Regions from separate parts of the Homo sapiens genome. Here region 2 is linked to region 1. The links are contacts of gene promoters, found by promoter capture Hi-C in human tissues and cell types (Jung and others, 2019). All regions are on one chromosome and are shown on one strand. The core of a region is centred on a gene start or on the middle of the fragment in contact, and the rest is flanking DNA. Distances in the headings are between cores, read along the strand shown. Region 1 holds the start of FGFR2 (fibroblast growth factor receptor 2). Region 2 overlaps FGFR2 (fibroblast growth factor receptor 2).

The links. The method cuts DNA at HindIII sites, captures the fragments that hold promoters and counts their contacts. A contact is called where the count stands out against the background at its distance.
Region 2: a contact is called between a fragment that was not itself captured here and the fragment with the promoter of FGFR2 in region 1, in 1 of the 25 tissues and cell types used here (hippocampus).

What each region holds. Positions count from the first base shown.
Region 1 is chr10:121,597,020-121,603,131 of GRCh38, forward strand. FGFR2 (fibroblast growth factor receptor 2) reads right to left here and starts at 1,425. Exons shown (of 18, transcript NM_000141.5): 1 at 943-1,425. RefSeq lists an enhancer at 1-631. The HindIII fragment of the contact is 2,645 bases long and covers 1-2,558 here.
Region 2 is chr10:121,551,241-121,557,044 of GRCh38, forward strand. It overlaps FGFR2 (fibroblast growth factor receptor 2), which reads right to left. Exons shown (of 18, transcript NM_000141.5): 5 at 50-219. Among named protein-coding and RNA genes, the nearest start is that of FGFR2, 44 kb to the right of the region's middle. The HindIII fragment of the contact is 4,656 bases long and covers 1-3,578 here.

The DNA.
Region 1 (6,112 bases), core at 175-2,674:
ATGGGTGCCCTGAGTTTGAAAGCAGGTTTGCCTTTAAGGGTAGGTTTTATTGAATTGGGAGAAAGGAAGGAGGGTCTGGAGAACGGTCTGCAAGGGAGCGGGGTGCGAGGAGAGCGACGGAGGCTGGTGGTCCCCGAGCGGGCCTCCTGCGCCAGGTCCGTGGTCCGCGAGGGTCGGAGCCAGCGCCACGCAGGGCCCTCGGCTTTTTTCCCCAGCGCGGCCCCGTGGCCGAAAAAAATGAGCGCGCAAGTTAGAACTCGCCTGCGCTTTCGACATCTCCCAGCCGCTGCGGCAGAGCAGGCAGGCGAACTAGAAAAAGTCGGTCCAGTTCGCCCCCTAGCCCCAGGCGCACTGCGCTCCCTCCAGCGCCGACGGCGGCTGCGGGCGAGGGGCGCCCAGGCACCGGAGCCGTCGCCTCCCCAGCAGTGCCACCCCTGGCCATCGCCACCCCTACGGGATGTCACCGGCCCCACCCCAGCGGCCCCCTCCCGAAAAAGGGGTCTCCGCAGGGCCTGGATGGTACGGAAGTTCCCAGGACACACGGATGGGGCACCTCGGAGATGACCCCGGGAACCGGCCTGCGGGGCTGTGCCACGGGCAGGCGAACCTTCCGCCCGTCTGCTCTGGGGTCGGAGAAACGCGCCCAGTCAGCGGGAATGCGCCCGCCAGGGTTTGACAGGGAGGGGGGCGTCAACGCCAGAAGCAGATGTCAGCATCTGGATGGGGGTAGCAGAGGCAGAACTTCCAGAACGCCGGCCGTCAGCACGCACCCACCTCCCCCATCACCTATGCAGCCACAGAGGGAGGACACGGAGCGTCCTCCACAATGCTAGTCCTTCCGCGCCCCCCGCCCGGAGGACGGTGCACCCGGCGTCCCGGGCTCCCGTGGCGCCCACGTCCCCGGCTGGCGAAGCTCCCCGAGGCGTCTTGCGCGGCGATTACCTTGAATGGCAACGCTCCTCCGCGACCTGTGTTGTCCCCGCGCCCCGCGTGGGTCGGGATGGAGAAAGCGACGAGCCCGGGGTTGCGGGGAGCAACTCCAAACGCAGAAGAGTGGTCCTTGGGTCTTCGCCGGCGCCAAGCCTCCCGGGCTTCACGCGTACCCCAGGCTGCGGAGGAGCGCGGGCATGACGCCCGCGGGCTGCCCTCGGATTTGGGGAACGAGAGGAAGAAAGGACTCAGGCTTGGCGTTGCCTCCACCAAACTTTGCTCGCGAGTTGCGAAGGCTCAGAGCGCGCAGGCAAGCTGCGGCCTCGGGGCCCCCGGGGCTCGCGGCCGGCCCCCGCCAGCCCGGAGAGCAGTCGCCGCGCCGGGCCAGGTACGCCGCATGCAGCCCCGCGGCGCCCGAGCTTTGTGGCGGCCGCGCGCGCTCCCTCGCCCGCTCCGCACCCGCCGCCCGCCCGCTCGGCTCTCCACCGCGCTCTCCTCCAGCCGCCGCCCGCGCCGCCGCCGCCGCCCCCGCCTCCTCGCGGCGGGTCACGCCCCCACTGAAACCCGAGCCGTTTCCTGGACGGCGGCGCCCTCTCTGCCAATCAGCGCCGCGCGCCCGGGCCGCCCCGAGTCCCGCGCGGCTCCCGACGCCTCCGAGCAGCCGGAGACACCGGCCCGGGAGGCGAGGGCTCGGCCGCGATGCGGCCGTAGGGATGCAGCGACAGCCTCCGAATAAGGCCTGGTCCCGCGCCCCGCGCCACCTCCTCCCTCCTCCCCGGGCGAGCGAGGCTGGCCAACGGCTCGCTGAGCGACTGCGTTACGTTGTTTTATGTCAAGTTAGAAAACAAATGACCGAAGGCTCTAACCCTGCCCTCCCGCTAAAGAGACTTTAAAATGCGCCTGCTTGATACTGCGGGGAGGGTTGCCAGGCAGCTGAAGCTTTTGGAGGAGAGGAAGCCACTTGGAAATGTTCGCAGGACATTGCATGTTTCTGTCCTTCTAAACAATAGAAATGAGAGGAAAAAACTGAATATTAATGGAGGCCCTACTATGGGAGGGTCACACTACATAGGTGATTCTATTTCATCTGCCCAACCACCCTGCAGAGTACTATTCCCAGTTTCTGATAAGGAAACAGGATCAGAGAGGTTAAGTAATTTGCCTAGGACCACACAGCTGGCTACTAGGACAGCCTGACTTTGAATGTGGCTCTCTCAGAAAAAGCCAAAATTGCATCAAAAAAAAAAAGTGTTTAATAATATATGTTTGGATTAATAAAAAGAAATTCAAAGGAGTCTAAAGACAACTCTACCATAAATAGACCTTGAACAAAGTAATTCCTCCCTCTGAATCTTAGATTAAAAATCATAAATGCAAAATCTGATTCTTCAACTGCACACCAAGCTGTAACTGGTTAAAGTTCCTATGTCCATTTACCTTTTCACTAAGCCGTGTCTTCGGAATAATTTATTTTAAATATGCTTTTTCTCCCTCCTTATTCATCCAGCTCCTGAGCAGCCGTGCTTAAGTTCAAGACCATATAGATTAAAACCTTAATTATTTTTCTTTAGAAAAGGTCACTAAACCCAGAAATGCTTTAGAATCCTTTTGAGGCCTGAAGATAGATGAAGCATTGAGAACAAACCTGACTTGGAAAACAGACTTTTCCTGGATTTAGAAACATATTTGCACCTGTGTCACTAACATTGCACCCTTCATAACATTTACAAAAATATTTTTCAAGGTGCTACATGATTAGAAAATCATTTTTATTCACAAATATAGCACAGAAAACGTTTATGCAAGTTATTTAAAAGCCACACAAGTAAGAAATCCATTTAACTGCCTCAGGCAAAAGGCTATAACATTGTATTTTGGAAATTTGATAGCAACAAAATAAAAACTGGTTCTTAAGCAAAATTATCCCTCTATATGCTTGGTGGGAGGGTATGTTTTTGGTCAAGTCCTCTAACCTGGATTAGCCCCAGAGCCTATACATTAACGGACACCTCAGCCCAGGTTGACACTTAGCCATTCACTCCCACACGGGTTGTTCTGATAGCAGTATGTTTTCAAGTTCTCAGAAAAGGGATGCAGCTGAACGTGTCTGCCTGCTCGCAGGTTGCCACTTACATCTTTATATTCCCCACCAATGGGAAACTCGAGTGTCTCAGGACAGTTCCTTTCCCATCCTACACCGCATCCATCAGCCATTGAAAATGCTGTTAACACATTCTCACATAAATTAATGGTGCAGGAAGCCGCTGTCCCTATCCCCCATTCATCAATAGCTTTATGCATGTTGAATGGAAAGGAAGCTTTCCGCTGAAAATGACAAATAAGAACACCTACTTTCATGTCCAGGCACAGTTTGCAGAATGTATTTTTTATAGAAATGAAAAGACACCAATCTATCAAAAGCTCCTTATTCCCTAAAGAGGGCTCATATATAAGGGACTGAAACCCACAAGACCACAACAGGAAACTCTTCAGTTTTGAGGAGGGGGGGGAAGTATGTTTAGAATTATTTTTAAAAAATCAATTATGTCCCCATATTTAGTCTTCAAGTGACCTCAGACCATCCAGGAAAACCTTCACACCACTGAGGCTTCTGAATGAGAAAATAATCTCTTTACAGTTTTTTCTTTTCTCTTCCCTCTTCAAGTGGCTGGAACCCCTTTCGTCAATGGCCTCCCATGAATGGTGTTGCTAATAAAGCCTATTAATGAGCTTCCACGGCGGAGTGTGAATAGGTAAATAAGCCCCAATCTGTTGAGGTTCTGGGGCAAGGGCAGAAAAGCCAGTAAGAACTAAAGGTGACAGTTTGAACTGAACTGCGAACGCCAGCACCAGGTTTCAGCTGAAAGAACCGCCAGACAAGGACACATTCACAGTTCCTCCACCCCCTACTGAGGTCTCTTTTCTTCGCAATTTTCCCCCCTTTACAAAATGTCTTGAGTAGTCACCCTTTTTTTTTTTCAAAAGCCCTCGAGACGCCCTTCTTTTTTCACTCTAGTAATGATACATCAATGGGAAGGAAGAAAAATGAGGACACCAGAACTCCGATGCCCCCAAAAGTTTCAAGAAACAAATTGTGCTGCTAGCCCGTTGGTGATGGGAAGAGAAAGGAGAAGGGGGTGGGAGCGCTCACTACCATGGGCCTCTCTCCTTTGAAGATTTGGAATTTTTCTTTTAATAATTTGTTTTGTAATGGGTGGCTGTTCCTTCACTCTATGGAAACGTTAGATGAAATAAAGGCTGCTGACATGAAGTGCTCATGAACCTTCCCGGGTGGATCTGAGCTCCCTGCAACACCAGGAATTTCATTCTCTAAGCTACATCTCAATAGTGCCCTCGGCATAAAAGAAGCACTCAAATGGAAGGATATAGAATAGTCGGAGGACTATGATAAGAGTATTTACTTCTGGGTAAGGGGAGGGGCTGGATGCTGTGACAGCTCCAGCCCATCTTCAGGGAGCTTGTGGCATTTAAGTGAAGCAAAATCATTGATCCCACTACTGAACAGCATCAATGATTTTAAACTTAGAACTGGGCCTGAATTCCAAAGCCAAGGCTTCCCCGGAGACAAAGTCCTTCTGGAAGTATAGCCTCACTTTGAGGCAAAGGGGAATGGCTTTCTTAAGGTGAGAGGCTGGATGCAGCTTTCTTTACTCAATAGCTTTGTGACCTGTGGCCGGGCGCAGTGGCTCACGCCTGTAATTCCAGCACTTTGGGAGGCCGAGGCAGGCGGATCACTTGAAGGCAGGAAGTCGAGACCAGGCTGACCAACATGGTGAAATGCCGTCTCCACTAAAAACACAAAAATTGGCCGCTTGTGGTGGCGCATGCCTGTAATCCCACATACTCTGGAAGCTAAGGCATGTGAATCGCTTGAACCCAGGAGGCTGAGGTTGCAGTGAGCTGAGATCGCCCCACTGCACTCCAGCCTGGGTGACAGAGCAAGATTCCCTCTCAAAAAACAACAAAAAAAGGCCTGGCATGGTGGCTCACACCTGTAATCCCAGCACTTTGGGAGGCCGAGGCAAGTGGATCACCTGAGGTCAGGAGTTCAAGACCAGCCTGACCAACATGGAGAAACCCCGTCTCTACTAAAAATACAAAATTAGCTGGGCATGGTCGTACATGCCTGTAATCTCAGCTACTCAGGAGGCTGAGCCGGGAGAATCACTTGAACCTAGGAGGCAGAGGTTGCGGTGAGCCGAGATCGTGCCATTGCACTCCCGCCTGGGTAACAAGAGAGAAACTCCGTCTCAAAAAAAACAAACAAACAAACAAACAAACGCTGTGTTACCTCAGGCCAGTTGCTTGAGTTATCTGAGTTTTCCATTTTCTCAGCTGTAAAATGGGGAAAATAATGGTTCTTATTTCCTGGATTTTTTTTTTCTTTTTTTTTTTTGAGACAGAGTTTCACTCTGTCACCCAGGCTGGAATGCAGTGGCACGATCTCGGCTCACTGCAGCCTCCACCCTCAGGGTTCAAATGATTCTCCTTCCTCAGCCTCCTGAGTAGCTGGGACTACAGGTGCCTGCCACCGCGCCCAGCTAATTTTTTGTATTTTTAGTAGAGATGGGGTTTCACCATCTTGGCCAAGCTGGTCTTGAACTGCTGACCTCGTGATCCACCCGCCTCGGCCTCCCAAAGTGCTGGGATTACAGGCGTGAGCCACCGCACCCGGCCTCTCCTAGATCTTTAATAGGATCACTAAGAGGATGAAATGAGTTAGGACGTGACAAGCACTTAGTTTTTCTTTGTTTTTGTTTTTTTATTTGTTCGGGTTTTTTTGGTTGTTTTGTTTTTGCCTTTGTTTTTGTTTTTGTTTTTTGGTTTTTTTTGAGATGGAGTCTTGCTCTGTCATCCAGAGTGCAGTAGCGTGATCTTGGCTCACTACAACCTCTGCCTCCTGGGTTCAAGTGATTCTCCTGCCTCAGCCTCCCAAGTAGCTGGGACTACAAGCGCCTGCCACCACGCCCGGCTAATTTTTTTATATTTTTAGTAGAGATGGCATTTCACCAAGTGATCCACCTGCCTCCCAAAGTGCTGGGATTACAGGCGTGAGCCACCGCACCCGGCACTTAATTGTTTTTGTTTTGGTTTGGTTCGGTTTTTTGAGACAGGATCTTTCTCTGTCACCCAGACTGGAGGGCAGTGGCACAATCACAGC
Region 2 (5,804 bases), core at 1-2,500, 46 kb before region 1:
AAATAAACAAAAATGTAAGAAATGTGATGTTCTGAAAGCTTAATTCTACCTTGTAGCCTCCAATGCGATGCTCCTGCTTAAACTCCTTCCCGTTTTTCAGCCACCGCATGGTTGGCATTGGGTTCCCCCCGGCTGGGCAGCGAAACTTGACAGTGTTGGCCGCAGGCACAGCATGGAGCCGCTTTTCCATCTTTTCTGTGTTGGTCCAGTATGGTGCTCCTGTTTTGGAAAACAGTATTAGAATGTATACTGATGGACAGCTTCCCCTCCATGAGTAAACTCCAAACAGGTAAGATCATTTCGCTTTGCATGTAAATGCTAGGCTATTTTTTAAATCTTTGGGTAATATTTACATTTGGAAAATATTTTCAGAAGTCTAATCCAGCTGGCTGAGCAGAAGGTCCCAGAGAGGGATGGTTCATGTCTACCAACAGGAAGAAAAAAAAAAAAGTGTTTGAGGCCCCTTCTCTCTCTTGTTCTTGATGCCAGAAAATAATTTCATGCCAAATCATGTTTTAAAATGCTATTTTATAAACATATGAACAACATATACAACTGCGACAGCTCAGTCCTCCAAAAATAGATCATTTTGGATTGCCACACCTATTAAATGATCACATATACACACTAGTAAAAGCAAGTTGTTCTCAAAAGCCCTATCAACTTATCCATTGGAGCCTTACTTTAAGGGCAATCAATAGTATAAATTGTCATTCTAATATAATAAAATAACCCAGAGAGTCATTCGTACATTTCTCAGAACTTATATACAAACAAACAAACAAAAAAAAAAACTGTATCACTAAATACATACTAACTTTTTTAATTAAAAAAAAAATTTCTTTCCAATGGTGGTTATGAATGCCATAACCCTACCACCCCACCTAATGATAACTTAAGAGGAGGCTACCAATTAAATGATATGTTAAAGTTATGCCCTCCAGATGTCCCCGAAAGTCATAAATACAAGTGATTTTTTAAAGTCAAGAAAAAAGTTTTAAATCACAAAGTAAAGTATATTTTTTCTAAATAAAAGCCACAACATCAAGCCAGAATACCACTGTAAATTCTTCATGTCTGCTAATAATGGCGAATGACTACTACCGACTGAAAGCTTCTACTTTGCCAAGCACTGCTCAAAGAGTTTTTACATGTCAACACATTAATCTTCACAATGCTTCAACAAGAAAGGCACTATCATAATCTTGGCTTCCAAGTGGGGAAACTGAGGCACAGAGCAGTTAAGTAACCTGCCAAAAGCCACAAAGCTTGGAAGAGGTGCAGCCAAGATTTGAACCACATCAGTCTGATGCCAGAGCCCACTATCTTCAACCCTACTCTCCACTGCTAAGAAGATGCAGCTTCTCCACGAGGTTGGAATCCGTACCTTCCACCAATCTGATGTTTAAGGCTGAAGTCCGGGAAAGCCAGCCTGGGTCAAGGCACACGTCCTCCTTTTTTCCTGTCCAGAACCTCTACTGTACAGCAATTTAACTATTCACATATATGTTTCTGTCTTAGCAAAGTAGTAACCAAAATCCCTGTATTCCTCTGAAACAGCCACCAACAGGGACTTGAACATTGTAGAAGGCTAATTCATAACTATGCTTATTTCTGATGAAGGCTAGACTGAACAACAGCACACACAGTTCACAAACCCAAGGCAAAATGGCCCTAGGCAGGGGCTTTGTCTCTGATGCATATTTAGAAGTCTCCTCTATTCTACGGGTGTAGAGCACGTCCCTGGGGGATAAGGATCCCCTTCACTTAGCAGCCAGACTCAGGGTACAATCAGGAATTGAAATCGCTGCATCCAAACACCTACCCCAATTAGCCTTCACGCTTGCTCTTGAAACCTGTTGTCAAAGGTAGAGCTGAGATTTCTTTACAAGGCCATGCTGTATCTTTATCCCTGTGCTTATCTAAGTGTCAAAGTGATGGGATTTAGGTGCACCCATATGATGCTGAAACAGTGGGAAGAGGGGCAAAACTATCGAAGCCAGGAGAGAAGAAGAGGAAGGAGGAGAAAGAAGGAACAGGGGCTGAATTCCTTCCTTTGAATCCAGTTGCATTTGCAACCTGGGTAGACATTTGGCTCTGGGTGTTGAATGCCCATAAACGCACCTATTCTTTTGAGGGTTCACCAGGGAGTACTTGATTCCCATTCATCCCAAGACTCTCAGGGCCTGGCATATACTGAAACAATTTCAATAAACTTTCATTTTAAAAGCTTCTACTTAGAAAAATCCATCCACAGCCACAGCCACTAAAAAGAAACCATTGAGAGCACAAAACAAATAATGAGCTTTGTCACTACACAAAGACGTTTACAAATCTAACCTAAATGAAAAGCATACCTCATGCTGTCAGGTGTCTGCACTCATGTCATTTGTTTAAGTAAACACAATAGCCTATTCATATGAATTAGCTAAATATTAATGCAGTAACTCTTTCAGATAACATCAATTACTGCTGAGCTGATCCTGTGGAATGTCTTTTCTTTTTTACATAAAAGAAATCAACAGATATGTGCTTACATACCATTAGGCATGATTTTTATGTTCCCTAAAAAAAAAGTGGGATTTAGCTGAAGGAACTAGGAATGTTGTTCTTTTCTGCCCTCACTGGGCCAAGCCATGGGTGAGTCTGTAACAGCCCAGGGACCGGCCCAGACCACGCGCACCTATGCAGGCCTGACCTGTGGCAACAGCCCATGGGCAACCCGCACCTTTGTCTTGGTGCCTCGGGAGTGATTTAAGGACTAAGGTGAAATAATGTTGCTGGAATTTCTGGCAGGTAGCCACTTCCCTCGGGTGATATTTCAATCATCAAAGCTACACCTATAAAATCTGCTTCTGCAAAACACAGACACAGCCATACAGCAGGGTACGGGTGCAGTGCTGCTCATCTAGGTCTCAGAGATCCAAGGTTGGGGGCCACCATAAAAAATCCAGGCACAACCCTCCACCCAGGCTCCCATGTGTGACCAGCCCCACCCTGGTGACTGCTAACATCACACCAGCACACAGCCTCTCTTTAAATATCAAGCTCACAAATATGTTTAATGAACTTGATACGGGAGGGGAGGAAGTCTTTTTTTTTTTTTTCCTTTTTTTGAGACAGCGTCTTGCTCTGTTGCCCAGGCTGGAGTGCAGTGGCGCGATCTTGGCTCACTGCAAGCTCTGCCTCCCGGGTTCACGCCATTCTCCTGCCTCAGCCTCCCGAGTAGCTGGGACTACAGGTGCCCGCCACCATGCCCGGCTAATTTTTTTTTTTTTTTTTTTGTATTTTTAGTAGAGACAGGGTTTCACCGTTTTAGCCAGGGTTTCACCGTTTTAGCCAGGATGGTCTGGATCTCCTGACCTCATGATCCACCTGCCTCAGCCTCCCAAAGTGCTGGGATTACAGGCGTGAGCTACCGCGCCCGGCTGGAACTCTTTTATAATTTTACAATAGCTCTTCCTAAAATACACTAGCTTTATGTGAACCTTGAATCTGTAAGATCTAGAAAAATAATAATACTATAAGATAGCCCTACTGTGTTTCCTTCATCAGCAGCCTTGTGTCCTCTGTATGTTTTTGCAGTTGGAAAGGACACACATGGAAATGCCAGGGCCTCCCAAGAACTGCAAAACAGCTGGAGACAAACACCATCCAGGCACTTAGAACGGGCTCCTCTACCTAAGGAAGCCCCTTTTATACCAAGGCTCGTGAACAGCTTTAACAACTCTCATTTGGAGAAGGAACTCATGTACCAAATTAAAGATCTACTGAAGCAGAGATCAGCCTTGTCCATAGTAGATGCTTAACAGGGATGTTTACTCAACAATCTTATCTAAAATGAATCTGCAGGCCAGGCGCGGTGGCTCACGCCTGTAATCCCAGCCTTTGGGAGGCCGAGGTGGGCGGATCACCTGAGGTCAGGAGTCCGAGACCAGCCTGACCAACATGGTGAAACCCCGTCTCCACTAAAAATGCAAAAATTAGCTGGACATGGTGACGCATGGCTGTAGTCCCAGCTACTAGGGAGGGTGAGGCAGGAGAATTGCTTGAACCCAGGAGGCAGAGGTTGCAGTGAGCCGAGATCATGCCATTGCACTCCAGCCTGGGCGACAAGAGCAAAACTCTGTCTCAATCAATCAATCAATCAATCAATCAATCAAATGAATCTGCAAGCTAAGGACACATGAGTTTCCCTGAACTTTATATACCTTAGAGGTGTATGAAGAGCGGGCTTAAAGTCAGCTAATAGAGACGTGTGGTATAAACTTCCAATGGCATTCAAAATGAATGACACTAATCCACCTGTAAAGGAAACAAATTAACCTCGATGAGAGGTATGGTTCCTTTGGCTCTGACATTCTTAGACCTTCTGATGTAATAGGTACCACAAGAATGATGTTCTCCTAATCATCAAATACTAAGAATGAGCTGGTTAAAGAACAGTCAGACCTAGCCACAATCAATCAATCCCATCCCATCAATTAAATCCCATCACCAGCATATAGCATACCTACTCATTATCATTTTCTACACTGTAACAGTCATTGCACATTAGTAATAATATTAAGTAGAATTTTACTTTAAGACAACAGAAGTCTTTTAAGATGCAATGAGTTAAAGAGAGATTTATAAACCCACAGAAACTTCCTTCAAAGGACTCCAACACAGCCTTTATTATTCCCACCCTAGAGCCAAGTTATTCTTTCTCAGGGCCCCTTCTTTGTGATAGATGTGTGCTTCCAACATTAGTGTCTCTGTACTGAAAAATACTCCTTCTGATGCTGACCAACAACAGTAGGGCACCTGGAGGGTACAGCTGGAGTTGTCTTTAGCCTATGGAGTAGGCACTCAAGCGTTATTGGATGGATGGATGGATGGATGGATGGACGGACGGATGGATGGACGGATGGATGACTATTAAAAGCTTTAGCTATAAAATGAAGTAGTTGCACTGATTAAGGTCCCCGCCAGTTCGAACATACTTTCCAGGTATCTATGTGCTAGACAGGTATTGATTCTGTCAACAAATGGTAGGATTATGTGATTTCTTTTGACCCTGCAATTTAAACTTAGTGAGAAACCATAGGCTGCTGGGCCTGCCCCCACCAAAACCCTTGCACATCTCAATGCTGACACCTAAGGTTTATAATCTACTCTCTCTCTCTCTCTCTCTCTCTCTCTCTCTCTCTCTGGAACCAAAAAACAGAGAACACGGCCCAATGATTTAAAGGAGAAACATGGAATCATATTACCAGGCTGTACCAAAAGAGACCTCGGTGACCATCTGGCCCAACGACTGATGATATCAATGTCATCCAGAAAGGTTAAGTGATTTGATCAAGGTCACACAGCCAGAGGCCGGGCTGAGGCCAGGCCCATCTCCAGCTCCCTGAGCAGTGTTCCTTCAACCACTCCAGCCTGCCCTTTGAACTCTCCCATGGTAATTAAGTCAAAAGTTCAAGATTTATGTGAGCCGCGGCCACCAATGACTGCCAACTGTATTTTTATGGATGCAAAAAATTTTAAAAACACAGCCTGTTCCAGCTCCTAGATTAAGTCTCACAAACTCTCTAAAGCCCCACTAAAGCCTCTGTCTCGAGTCTATAATTAGGGCTTTTAAAAATATCACTAATCAGGACATTTGAATGCTTTGACTCCTGACAGGGGAAAAATGTCTCAGAGCTCCCCACTACCCTGCAGTTCTGCTTTCAGTTTGGTATAAACTAAGAGAAAACAAATCTAACAAAATACGGAGATGTGAGTGAGGATATGATTATGAGGGGGTATGTCTGTGGCTTTGA